4 separate regions of the Homo sapiens genome follow, and regions 1, 2 and 3 are each linked to region 4. The links are contacts of gene promoters, found by promoter capture Hi-C in blood cells and fetal thymus (Javierre and others, 2016). All regions are on one chromosome and are shown on one strand. Each heading gives the region's core, a stretch centred on a gene start or on the middle of the fragment in contact. The rest is flanking DNA. Distances are from core to core; before and after follow the strand shown. Region 1 overlaps MAT2B (methionine adenosyltransferase 2 non-catalytic beta subunit). Region 2 holds the start of HMMR-AS1 (HMMR antisense RNA 1). Region 3 has its middle 2.5 kb from the start of CCNG1. Region 4 holds the start of PANK3 (pantothenate kinase 3).

Region 1 (2,845 bases), core at 324-2,823, 5.1 Mb after region 4:
ACTCTGCTCTTATGAATGGATTAATGCCATTATAAAAGGACTTGAAGGAAGAAGCACATCCCTTTCTGCTCTTCTGCCGTGAGAACACAGCATTCCTCCCCTCCAGAGGACCAGAAAGACCCTCACCTTGATCTTGGACTTCTCAGCCTCTAGAACTGTGTGAAATAAATTTCTGTTCTTTATAAATTACTGAGTTGTTGGTATTCTGTTATAGCAGCACGAAATAAACTAAGACAAATGTATTCAAGGATGATTTCAACAGAATAATTTATAATACAAGAAAACTTTTTAAAAAACTAAATGTCCATTAGTAAGGTATTCTACACTAGGGCTGCTTCTCAAGGCCATAGTACAGTCTAAGGCAGTAGTTTTAGTGCAGGGGACCATTAAATTAAGTACTACGCAGCCACTGATAGGAGTAAGATATCCCAGAGTAGGTTCCATGTGTACTAAAATGCAAAGATGTTGAGGGAAAAAAAACAGGTTGTGAAACAACATGCATACATTTTTTGAAAATATATAAAAATGCTTCCACACTTAACCATATTTGGTGTTTATCTCCCTGAGGCAGCATTTATGAGAACTTTTGTTCTTAGTAATTTTACATTTTTTCTAAGGAGTGTATACTTTTTATATATGGAGATGTGTGTTATACACAAACTCACATACAGGAAAAAAGAAACACCATAATAGAATGTTAATACATACAACATACATATAACAGAATACATAAAAACAAAATACATACACATATAACACAGTAACATACATATAACAGAATACATAAACAGAATATCTCACTCTAAGAGAAATTATACTGCCCTGTTTTTTGAAAATGAGTTACAAAAGCTTGTATTACCTGACTTGTTTTCTATGTGTAAAGATGAATATGTAAACACTGATAGTGGAAACTGTCTTGAAGGATTCACAAAGTAGTTATCTCTTAGAATTTTTTATTTTCTTTATTAACTATATTCTAATTTTTCTCTAATGATTCATATTCATTGACTTTTTAAATTTAAAACATATATATGTGTATGTATAAATGATTTTTAAAGTCTTCAAAAACAATCAGGGGCTAAATAGATTAGGTCTTACCTAGATTGTTCTCCAGGACAGCCTTTTCTCCATCTAATTTTGTTTTGCCATACAAATTTAGGGGAGCTGGTATGTCTTCCTCTCTGTAAGGTGGATTTGTTCCATCAAATACATAATCTGAGCTAATGTAGATGAGAAATGCTCCAACAGCAGCTACAAAAAAAGAAGACAAATCTATTAAATGTTTACATGACATTACTCTTTCATGGAATTTAGAATGGTTTTTCATGATATATAAAAACAAATAACCATCTACAAAACCTTAATTTCTAAAAACTCAGCAATCACTTAATATTTTATGAAAATTTTATAAAGTCATCATTACCTGCTTCCTTTGCTAAATTCCCAGAAGCATCCACATTAAGTTGAGAGGCAGCATCTGGCTGATTTTCTACAACATCTGGTCTTCTCTCTGCTGCACAATGTACTATAACATGGGGCTAGAAGTTAAGCATTGACGTATTTTTAACTCAAAATAAAATGAAAGAGGTATTACAGCCTTCTTAAAGTTAATTCAGAGAAAAATGTGCAGTAAGTCAACATTCTTTCAACTAAGAATAAATCATTGTAATTTCTAATGTAGTTTTGTCATGCTGCTTCTTTTCCCCGCAAGGTTCAAACTTAAAATATTTATAGGCACTGAAAAGAGTATTTCATAATATGCAGACACAAACCAGGAAAAAAACTGTCAACAACTGTATTTCTACTCTGGTGTGACGGTTCATGCATGTAATCCCAACACTTTGGGAGGCTGAGGTGAGACAATGCTTGAGGCCAGGAGTTCAAGATAAGACTAGGCAACATAGTGGTTGGTACTCAATCTCTACAAAAAAATTTAAAAATCAGCCAGTCGTGGTGGCATGAGCCTGTAGTTCTAACTGTTGTGGAGGCCGAGGCAGAAGGATCACTTGAGCCAAGGAATTCAAGGCTACAGTGGGCTGTGATCGATCTACCGTACTTCACCCTGGGCTACAGAGTGAGACCCTGTCTGAAAATAAAACAACCATGTTTCTAGGCTGGGCGCGGTGGCTCAAATCTGTAATCCCAGCACTTTGGAAGGCTGAGGTGGGTGGATCACGTGAGGTCAGGAGTTCAAGACCAGCCTGGCCAACATGGTGAAACCCCATCTCTACTAGAAATACAACAATTAGCCAGGTGTGGTTGCGCATGCCTGTAGTCTCAGGTACTCAGGAAGCTTAGGCAGGAGAATTGCTTGAACCCTGGGAGGCGGAGGCTGCAGTGAGCTCAACTGCACCACTGCACTCCAGCCTGGGCAACAAACCAAGATTACGTCACAAAAACAAGAACAAAACAGAAGTCTTTCTAAATCAAAACAAGTTTTATCCCCCAATTTGGACAAAAGGAAAGAGCTATCATTTATGCAATTAACATGATTTAAATATCTAATAAATCCATGTCAAAGGGAGAATAGTATCAATGATACCGAAAACCTCTCTGAGCCTGCTCCCTCAGCCCTAAAATGAAAATAACTATTTTGCAGTGTTGTGAGGTTTACAGTAACATTTGAAAACCATTTGCAGAGAAAGTATTACTTAGAAGGCACTCTATAAACATAAGCATTTTATAAAATGTCTCATATTTGTCTTTGTCAGCGTGTCAAAATTTAACTTTAAGGTTTACATATACCATGTCATGCTAAATGAAAAAAATGCTACTGCATAATACAACTTTAGAGCTTTCAAACATAGTAATTTCCTTGAGAGCAAGGATAGTTTCTGTATCATCC
Region 2 (3,176 bases), core at 501-3,000, 5.1 Mb after region 4:
TACTGAAAAAAAAATGGGATTCTGTAAATTAGGATTGGGACATATGGGAAGACCTTGATGAAGCTGGGGACATTAAGCCCCTAAATTCTGATGAGTCTTCTTTGCTAGTGGAGAGGCTTCTCAACCCCATTGGAAGCAGCTTCTCCATTTCCAGTGATAGTACCCTCCAACCTGTCTGTGATGATTAACACTGCATTGCCTGAGGAAATTGTAATGGCCTCCTTTGAGGCAGTTGATATGCAAGACAATGTTGGTTCTCCTCCAGACCCAACTCCACCACCCTTCTTTGCTTCTAGACCTGAAACTAGACAGGAACAAAGTGTTACCTATGAAGAGATGTGCTATACTCCAAAGAGTTACTCAAAGTCTCTAATTTATACAGACAAAAATCTGGGAACATATGTCGGAATGGATAATAAAGGTGTTGGAAAATGATGGAAGGAACATAAAGTTGGATCAGGTCAAATTTATTGACATGGGCTCACTAAGCCAAGATTCTGCATTTAACATTGCAGCTTGGGGAGTTAGAAAGGGTGCTCACAGTTTGATTGGCTTACTAAAACATGGAAAAGATGAATTGGAAGTGCTGGACATGCCTTGGTTTAATCTAGAGGATGGGATTAAAAGGTTTAGGAATATTGGGAAATTAGATTTTTCACTTAAGAACTACTCATCTCGGGTGGATCATGAGGTCAGGAGATCGAGACCATCCTGGCTAACAAGGTGAAACCCCGTCTCTACTAAAAATACAAAAAATTAGCCGGGCGCGGTGGCGGGCGCCTGTAGTCCCAGCTACTCGGGAGGCTGAGGCAGGAGAATGGCGTGAACCCGGGAAGCGGAGCTTGCAGTGAGCAGAGATTGCGCCACTGCAGTCCGCAGTCCGGCCTGGGCGACAGAGCGAGACTCCGTCTCAAAAAAAAAAAAAAAAAAAGAACTACTCATCCACACTGGGAAGGTCAAGAAAGCATACCTTTCACCAATACTATGAGAAAGAAATTTGCGAGGAGAGCTCCAGCATCTTTTTCAGAACTCTGTGATGGCTCTTCTCTGTAGGCCAGAGCTCACTGCAGTCACTGAACTGGAAAACCTAAATATAATGGAAGTAAAGGATCCCAGGGTGGCAAGGGTCAAGTAATGGGACTCAACCACCAAAGGCAAGGTGAAGTGGTTATCATAATGACAGAGCCAAAGGAACAATTAGAATAATCTCACTTGTAGACCTATGCTTTGGCTAGTTGATCATGGTTTTCCTAGACGTGAAATAGATAGGAAGCCTACTGAAGTCTTAACTTGATCTGTATAAGCAGAAAACTTCTAAGTCAAGTGACGAAAGTTGAACTCGAATCATAAAAACAGAATCGTGGTCCCTTAATTCCCAAACTTGAGCCACTTTATAGAGCCCAAAACCCTTTGATTGAAGGGGAGGACCTCAAAGGGACCCTGGTCCATAACCAAATGTTTATACTGTTAGTCTTTCTCCTAGTCCTCCGCAAAGGGATGTACAACCTTTACCAACGTAACTGTGCATTAGAAAAAGGGAATAATCAGATCTTTTGTGAACTAGTGGACACTGGCTCTCTGAAGTGACACTAATTTCAGGAGATCCAAAGTGCTACTGTCAGGGTAGCAGCTTATGGAGGTCAGGTGATCAGCAGAGTTTTAGCTTAGTTCCATCTCACAATGGGCCCAGTGAATTCCTGAACCTATCCTGTGGTTATCCCCTAGTTCTAGAATGTATAATTAGAATACAGTCAGCAGCTGACAGAATAATCCACACATTGGTTTCCTTACCTATGGAGTGAGGGCTATTATGGTGGAAAAGGCCAAGTAGAAGCCACTAGAACTATCTGTACTTAGGAAAATAGTAAACCAAAAGCAATGCTCAATTCCTATAGGGACTGAAGAGATTAGTGCCACCATAAGTACTTGAAGGAAGGCGGGGTGGTGATTCCTACCATATGTCCATTCAACTCGCCTATTTAGCCTGGGCAGAAGACAGATGGATTATCACAAACTTAACTAGGTGGTGACTCCAATTGCAGCTACAGTACCAGATGTATTGCTTGAGCAAATTAACACAACTCCTGGTTCCTGGTATGCAGCTACCTGGTATGATCTGGCAAATGCCTTTCTCTCCATCCCTGTCTATAAGGCCGACCAGAAGCAGTTTGCTTTTAGCTAGCAAGGCTAGAAATGCACCTTCATGTCCTACCTCAGGGCATATCAACTCACCAGCCCTGTCCTAATTTTGTTCACAGGAATCTTGATTGCCTTTTCTTTCCACATCACATTGGTCCATTACATTGACGACATTATGCTCACTGGACCTAATGAGTGAGACATAGCAACTACTCCAGACCTATTGGTAAGACATTTGCATGTCAGAAGTGGGAAGTAAATCCAACAAAAATTCAAAGGCTTTTTCATGTCTCAGTAAAATTTCTAGGGGTCCAGTGGTATGAGGCATGTTGAGATACCCCTTCTAAGGTAAGTTTTTGCATCTGCCCCCTCCTACAACCAGAAGAGGCATGACATGCGGCAGGCCTCTTTGGATTTTGAAGACGTTTCCTCATTTGAGTTTGTTACTCTGGCCCATTTACTGAGTGACTTGAAAAGCTGCTAGTTTGGAGTAGGACTCAGAATAGGAAAGGTTCTGCAATAGGTCCAGGCTATTGTGTAAGCGGCTTTGTTGCTTGGGACATATGAACTTGCAGATCCAGTGGTATTTGAAGTGTCAGTGGCAGATAGAGATGCTGTTGGAACCTTTGGCAGGCCCACATAGATGAATCTCAGTGCAGACCCTTAGTATTTTGAAGAAAGACCTGTTATCCTATGCAGATAACTACTCTTTTGAGAAACAGCTCTGGGCCTACTGCTGGGCTTCAGTAGGGACTGAATGCTTACCGTGGTCAATTAAGTTACCATGCGACCTGAGCTGCCCATCATGAGCTGGGTGTTATCTGACCCACAAGCCATAATGCTGGGTGTGGACAGCAGGAGTACATCATCAAAGAACGTGTTATGTATGTGACTGGGCCCAGGCAGGACCTGAAGGCAAAAGCAAGTTACATGAAGAAGTGACCCAAATGCCCATGGTCCCTGTTCCTGCTACCTTGCCTTTTTTCTCCCAAGCTCATGGAGAGTTCCCTATGATGAGTTGACAGGAAGAAACAACA
Region 3 (3,132 bases), core at 261-2,760, 5.1 Mb after region 4:
TGTAAAAGGGCCTGAAAAAGGGTGCACAAGGAGTCATTTCTAAACTCTTATGAATTACACAGTAGTTGGATGTCTCTGTTCTCATGGCCCCAGTTCGGTCTCTCTTACTTTGAAAAAGTGAAAATCTGAAAGATTTGCCGTCACTCTGCTATTTGCCCTGCCGTGTACTTACCCAAGGCAATGCCACAGAACAAAACTCTGGAAAGGGGGAAAAGGGGTGGGGAGGAAGGGGAAGGAAAAACAGGAGAAAACATCAATACCTCACAATAATACCTTAGCCACATAATCAGGTCAGTTTAAGAAACTGGGGCTCAAATGGGGAAGAGGCCTTTGTTCCTTTTGAAAATAAAAGCTTACCTAGTGAATATAAATTGGCAATTTATAACCTTTAACAAGTGATTTTATTTAAAAATACTTTTTGCTGTAATGTGTGAGTTTATAAATGTAGTTTCTCCTTTTGGCTTTTAGTTCCTATTATTCCTAATTCCTAAAATTAGGAATGTATATGCACAATTTTTAAAAAAAATGGCTAAAAAATCATAAAATCTTTATGGCAGGCTGGGCGCGGTGGCCCACACCTATAATCCCAGCACTTTGGGAGGCAGAGGCGGGTGGATTACCTGAGGTCAGGAGTTTGAGACCAACCTGGCCAACATGGTGAAACCCCGTCTCTACTGAAAATACAAAAATTAGCTGGGCATGGTGGCACGTGCCTGTAATCCCAGCTACTCGGGAGGCTGAGGCAGGAGAATCGCTTGAACCTGGGAGGTAGAGGTTGCAGTGAGCCGAGATGGTGCCACTGCACTCCAGCCTGGGCAACAGAGCAAGACTTGGTCTAAAAAAAAAAAAATTCTTTATAGCAATCAAAAGCACGAATAAATTAACTAATATTTATTGAACACATAGCATAGGCCAGTGGAGAACAAATTAGACTGGTACCCGTCCTTGTAGAACATGTAACCTGTGGGCAATATAAACACATAGACTTTAGAATAAAATAAACTTATATTCATATCCAGGAATAGCTCATAACTTGTTATGTGACTTTCAGCAAGTTATTTAATCACATTTTCTTTTCTCAACAATGAGAAGTAAAAAATACATTATTCATGGGGTTATGAAGAGGATTAAATAATAGAAAGTGCATAAAGAGGTAGTCACTATTCCCAGATCACAGTAGATTTCTTGATAAATGGTAGCCCTTAGTATTAAATTACTATTTCTTTTTAAATATCTTGCTTAAACACACTTTGATGTGTTTTCTCTGTTATCAGACTAGTCTTCTGTTTTCAGCCTAGAAGGATAATCAGAGTATTAGAACTGTTTATTTAACACAGATAAAAATATCTAAATTGCATGTATTAATTTCTATACGTTTTTATACTTGAAATTTTCACTTGAGGGCTTTTAGGTAATATATCATTGTTTATATAATACAGTATTTTCTCGTACATTAGAATATTTTTACTTTTTATTAAAATCTCTCACATAAAAATATTTCACTAGTACTGGAGAGACATTAATTAAATATAAATCAAGTCAAATTGAAATTCTTTACTTTTCTTCCTCCCTTAACCCCCTCTGCCATTTTCATTTCAAAATGTTAGAATATAGACCATCATTTAAATAATTGAAAAGACCTAATTAGCAAAATGTGGAAATGTAATACTCAGTTATCCACTCTTGTAAAATAAAGATAATGAGCCCTTCGTTAACTATGATTTTATTTTTAAAGAAGTGTGGATTTAATCATGAATTCCTATTGAAAATTTGTTAAATGACTGACTTCTGGGGGTATATTCTAGGCTCAATGATGTATTCAATTCCTATCCTCATACCTTCTTCTCCATTAACAGTTAAGTACAACAAGAACTAATGGTCAGAATAATGGCCTTGAGGCTGGGCAAGAATCCAGGCAGTAACGGGAAGATGTAATCATATTCTCCGCATGGTAGGCTGTAGACATGCCTTTCAACAACAAAGATTATAACAAGCAGGTATAAAACAGTGGTGGTGTGTCAAATACTGCCCTGACTCACAGGGAAATTCCCGGTTGGCTTTGTTTGTTTCCATCTTGGAGATGTGGGAGTCTGTGCCTTCCCTCCTGCACACAATGTCCAATCACCTTACCCTCTTTTCAGGCTCCCTAATAAATGTCTGGTACTTTTGTGTGTAGCCTTGTCCAACTATGATAAGGGCCAAGGAAGTGAGGGTCAAAAAGATCTCAGCTGAGTTCCCTTCTGCTTTCTGATCCTTCCTGTAACTGTGCATTACAGCCTCCTCCACTTCTCTAGCTGTTCTCTAGTGCATCTAGTCTATCTTATTCATTTGAAGTTAACTTGCTTGTCAGTGGCTCCTTTAATTCTTTATTAGTTTATGGGACACCAGTGAAATTAAGTATGGTTGGGAGGAGAAAGACAGAGAAGGATACATAAAAAACATAGATTAACAATTCCATGAATATCCTTCTACTCAGAGGTTCTAGCTACCACTTCTATACTCAGATAAAGTAACCCCTTCCAATTAATTGAGGTTTTACTATATATTTCATGAAAAACTAAATTTTTGACTCATCAAGTAACCACTGCTATATAAAGGCACTGGGTCACATTAGAGGGGGATCCTCTGTTCTCTAATGGCTTTAGACTCTGTTGAGTACAAAGCTTAAAGCCAAGACCAGCCAAAAACGTACTATATAGGGTTTGCATTTATTATATGTTTCCCATGTGCCAGGTCATCGTGCTGAACTTAAACACACCTGCCTTTGACAACTCTGATATTTTTATTCTCTTCAGAAATGTGGGATATTTTATATATCTCATGTTTAGTAACTGTTTACTATTTACTAAATATACTTCACACAAAACTTGAATTTGGATTTTTCTGCAGTTTTTTAAAAAGTTTCTATTTCAGAACATTTAAGTCTCATTACCCAGCTTCAATAATCAACATTTTGCCCATGTTGACTGTTTACTTTGTTTGTCTATCAACAAGTATTTCTTGAGAACTTTGTAAGTGCCAGACCATTGTATTTTGTAATCCCAGATAAAAAATGCTGCTACAGCTTTTGAGCCACAGGATGTGTTGGCTGCTGTTCTCTGTGAACGTAAGACGTCAGAAGGATCAGCTGGG
Region 4 (3,125 bases), core at 558-3,057:
TGAGCAGTGAAGACGACCAGAGGTTCCTTTCATTGCTATCTTGATTTTGGTGGGATTTGGCCAGCTTCTTTACTGCATGCTGTTTTATCAGCAAGGTCTTTGTGACCTGTATCTTGTGCCAACCTCCTATCTCACCCTGCAACTAAGAATGCCTTAAACTCCTGGGAATGCAGCCCAGTAGATCTCCGCCTTATTTCATCCAATCCCTATTCAAGATGGAGTCGCTCTGGTAAATGCCTCTGACACAGTTGCTATTCACAAACTCTATCACATACAGCCTCAAATTCCTGGGCCTCCCACCTTAGTCTCCCAAATAGCCGGGACTGCAGACACACACCACTGCGCCCAGCAAGTTTTTTTAGTTTTTAATCATTGTATTTCAAAAAGTAGTTGGGAGGATTAAATTTAAATTTTAAAAGTAAGGCACTTTGCAAAGTGTCAGCCCTTGGTATGTACTCAATAAATGGTAGCTTGTGTCCTCTCCTGTCCTTCTTCACATCCCTTGGCTTATCATCTGCAAGAAGGGGCAGTAAGGCTCTTTGGTAAGCGGGTTTCTTTGACTGGAATGCCCAATCCTCTACTGCCAACCCTCTATCCATCTATTGTAAAAACTACAGAATTCCTGGCCATCTAACTGGGCAACAAAAGTGAAGGCCAAGAGAAGATACCCAATGCCATCTTCTCCCATTCCAGCTGGAGGACTAAGACTCTAGGAGGCAAGGGGAAAGGGTGTCCTGGCTTTACTGTGAGAACTGGAGCAACTAAATTTTCTTCTCTGGGAGTCAGTTTTCCCTTTAGAAGGAGAGAGCTGGGCTGGAGGGCCCCAGGGGAATATGGATCGGTGGCAAAAAGAATGCTCAGCAAGCAATTTAACTCCTCAGACCGTGCCCCATCTTCAAAATGAGTGACAATAAAATGAATAATTGCACGTGGTCCACAAGGCCCCTGAATTTAAGTAAATCACACAAAGTGCTTAGCAGAGTCCCATGAACATAACGCGTTCCATAGATGTTACCTCTATTCCTGCTATTGTCATCATTCCGACCCTAACATTCAAGGTGTCTCTATTAAGCAAAAGGATTCCTTTGTGAATAATTTTAATCCGCCAATGTACTCAAGGGTCTATCTTAAGCACAGCTCTAGAGCCCTGATTGTAGCGCTTTCCATGGCCTGACGACCAGCTTTCCTGTCTCAAGGGGAAATCTGAGAATGGCCGAACAGCCATGACAGTCCTCTCGAAGAGTTCATTCCCCCTTCTCTCCGCGACCTGCTGAGGTCTGAGCCCGACTTCCCCAGCACGCCCATCTCAGTCACCATTGGTCGCCTCCTCGCTGGCGTGACTAAGACCCAGCCCTCTTCTCGCTGGGACCACTCTGAGGCGATCTGCGGAAGCTGAGGGGCCTCGGAGGAGGGGCCGCGATGCATCTCGGGCTTTGTAGTCCACCTGCACAACTACAGCCAGAGAGCGGGGCCTCACGAACCGGAGAACTACAATCCCCAGCAGCCGGGCGGAAGCGGAGCGAGGGGGGGCTCGCGTCACGTGGGCGTTCGGCCTGGGCGGGCTATTTCTCAGTGCGGCGGCGGCGGCGGTGGCGGCGGCTCCGGGGACCGGGGCCTTTTGTTTGGAGCGGCTGCGGGGGGGCCCCGGAGCGGCGAGGCCGGCGGCCTTCCCCAGCTTGCTCGGTCCCGGCCACCCCTCGCGGGGGTGGGGGGCCGCCCCCTGGGCCGGGCATCTCCTCAGGCGCCGCCGCCCCGCCCTAGGCCGGCCCCGCCCGGCCTGAGGGGAGGAACCGGCCGGGCCTCGCCGCGCGGCCCAGCCACCTCCGGAGTCGCCGCCTCTGCTCTCAGTGCCCCGGATCGGAGGCCGTCCATCGCCCCTCGGGCCGACGCCATGAAGATCAAAGATGCCAAGAAACCCTGTAAGACGGGGGCTGGGGCCCGCCAGGTTGGGAGGGCACCCTTGGGCCCCGTCTGAAAGCCCCTTGGCTGGGCGGTCGGCTTCCAAGCCCGTCGCTCCTCGCCGGCGCTTCGTCCGGTATGGGGGCGGAGGGACCATTTGAGCCACGAGTTCGAGGCTTCCGTCCTCCCCATCCCCCTATTCATGCATGGTGAATGCCTGCCGCCCCCTAGCCTTTCCTCCCACTTTCTCTTCGAGATCTGGGAGGTGCCAGAGGGAATTTCTGATTCTGATTTTTGTCAAACCAGACTAGTCTCCTCTCCCAGCTCCCCCTGAATTCAGGTTGAAAAGAGGCGGTCGCGGCTGTCAGGTTGCGCTGGCGGCTTTTAGCACCTGTTTTTAGGGATTTCCGGGCTTCCTGCTTGTGTCCTTGAAATGCCGGTGGGTTCCTGGGAGTTGTCACTGTTGTTACAGTTGGAGCTTTCAAACGTACGTGCATGCAGTCTGCCAGTGTGTAATTGCTTTGGCTTGTTTTTGTTTAGAATATCAACTAGTTCATGTTTGTTTTAGAAAACGCAGATAAACAAGAAAGATAAAGTCACCCGTATTCCCCGCACCCGGAGCGAACCGCTATTAATATTATGGTGAATACCCGTAGATATTTTTCTATGCATGTACTTAAATTCTGACTATGCTTTTAGAAAGGTCGACTTTCATTTGCTTCCTTTTATGTTTAGTCTTTTAAAAACCTTTTATTCCAGTAATTGACTTATTTAATCACCCAGCCATTGTGATTGTCACTCTTTTTAAGTATAGCCTCCCAGAAGGACTAGGAACGTGGGGATTCATGCTCATCTTAGAGTCGTATTGATACTTTTGCTGTTTTTACAGTGTTTCATGTGATCTCTTTAACTGTTAAGAAATCCACAACTATAAAACAGGGCGCTGACACCTTCCCTGCCCGCCTATCGGGGTTCCTGTAAAACTCACCTGAGAGGCAACAAGCCAAAACCCTGTGAAAACTACAAATTCCTATATAACTGTAAGGTAATTTGGTCTTAACTTCACAGGTGAGGAAATTGAACTTAGCCCCAGAGTAACTTTTCCAAGCATGTACCAACCATGTGCTATGTGGTTCATAACTCTAAGGGGACTGACTCATAATACAGTGTTCTTTCTCTTGCACCCATAGAGCATTGTCTAAGTACTTTATCTGGTAGTTTCATCT

Evidence for each region. Contacts are between HindIII fragments. The CHiCAGO score rates a contact against its expected background, and 5 or more counts as called.
Region 1: a contact is called between a fragment that was not itself captured here and the fragment with the promoter of PANK3 in region 4, in 1 of 17 cell types (naive CD8 T cells). The highest score is 7.9, in naive CD8 T cells.
Region 2: a contact is called between the fragment with the promoter of HMMR-AS1 here and the fragment with the promoter of PANK3 in region 4, in 4 of 17 cell types (naive B cells, naive CD8 T cells, total B cells and 1 more). The highest score is 9.5, in naive B cells.
Region 3: a fragment that was not itself captured here is called in contact with the fragment with the promoter of PANK3 in region 4 in 2 of 17 cell types (total B cells and naive B cells); the score reaches 11.3 in total B cells.

What each region holds. Positions count from the first base shown.
Region 1 is chr5:163,512,248-163,515,092 of GRCh38, reverse strand. MAT2B (methionine adenosyltransferase 2 non-catalytic beta subunit) reads right to left here. Exons shown (of 7, transcript NM_013283.5): 3 at 1,424-1,538; 4 at 1,099-1,251. Among named protein-coding and RNA genes, the nearest start is that of MAT2B, 8.1 kb to the right of the region's middle. The HindIII fragment of the contact is 1,444 bases long and covers 852-2,295 here.
Region 2 is chr5:163,492,632-163,495,807 of GRCh38, reverse strand. It overlaps HMMR-AS1 (HMMR antisense RNA 1), which reads left to right and starts at 1,750. Exons shown (of 4, transcript NR_109892.1): 1 at 1,750-2,109; 2 at 2,259-2,365. The HindIII fragment of the contact is 5,178 bases long and covers 1-3,176 here.
Region 3 is chr5:163,433,552-163,436,683 of GRCh38, reverse strand. It overlaps a transcript of LOC105377700 not described here. Among named protein-coding and RNA genes, the nearest start is that of CCNG1, 2.5 kb to the left of the region's middle. The HindIII fragment of the contact is 2,311 bases long and covers 355-2,665 here.
Region 4 is chr5:168,578,050-168,581,174 of GRCh38, reverse strand. It overlaps PANK3 (pantothenate kinase 3), which reads left to right and starts at 1,807. Exons shown (of 7, transcript NM_024594.4): 1 at 1,807-1,919. The coding sequence starts at 1,892. RefSeq lists a silencer at 1,530-1,859 and enhancers at 1,376-1,919, 2,010-2,079. The HindIII fragment of the contact is 14,951 bases long and covers 1-3,125 here.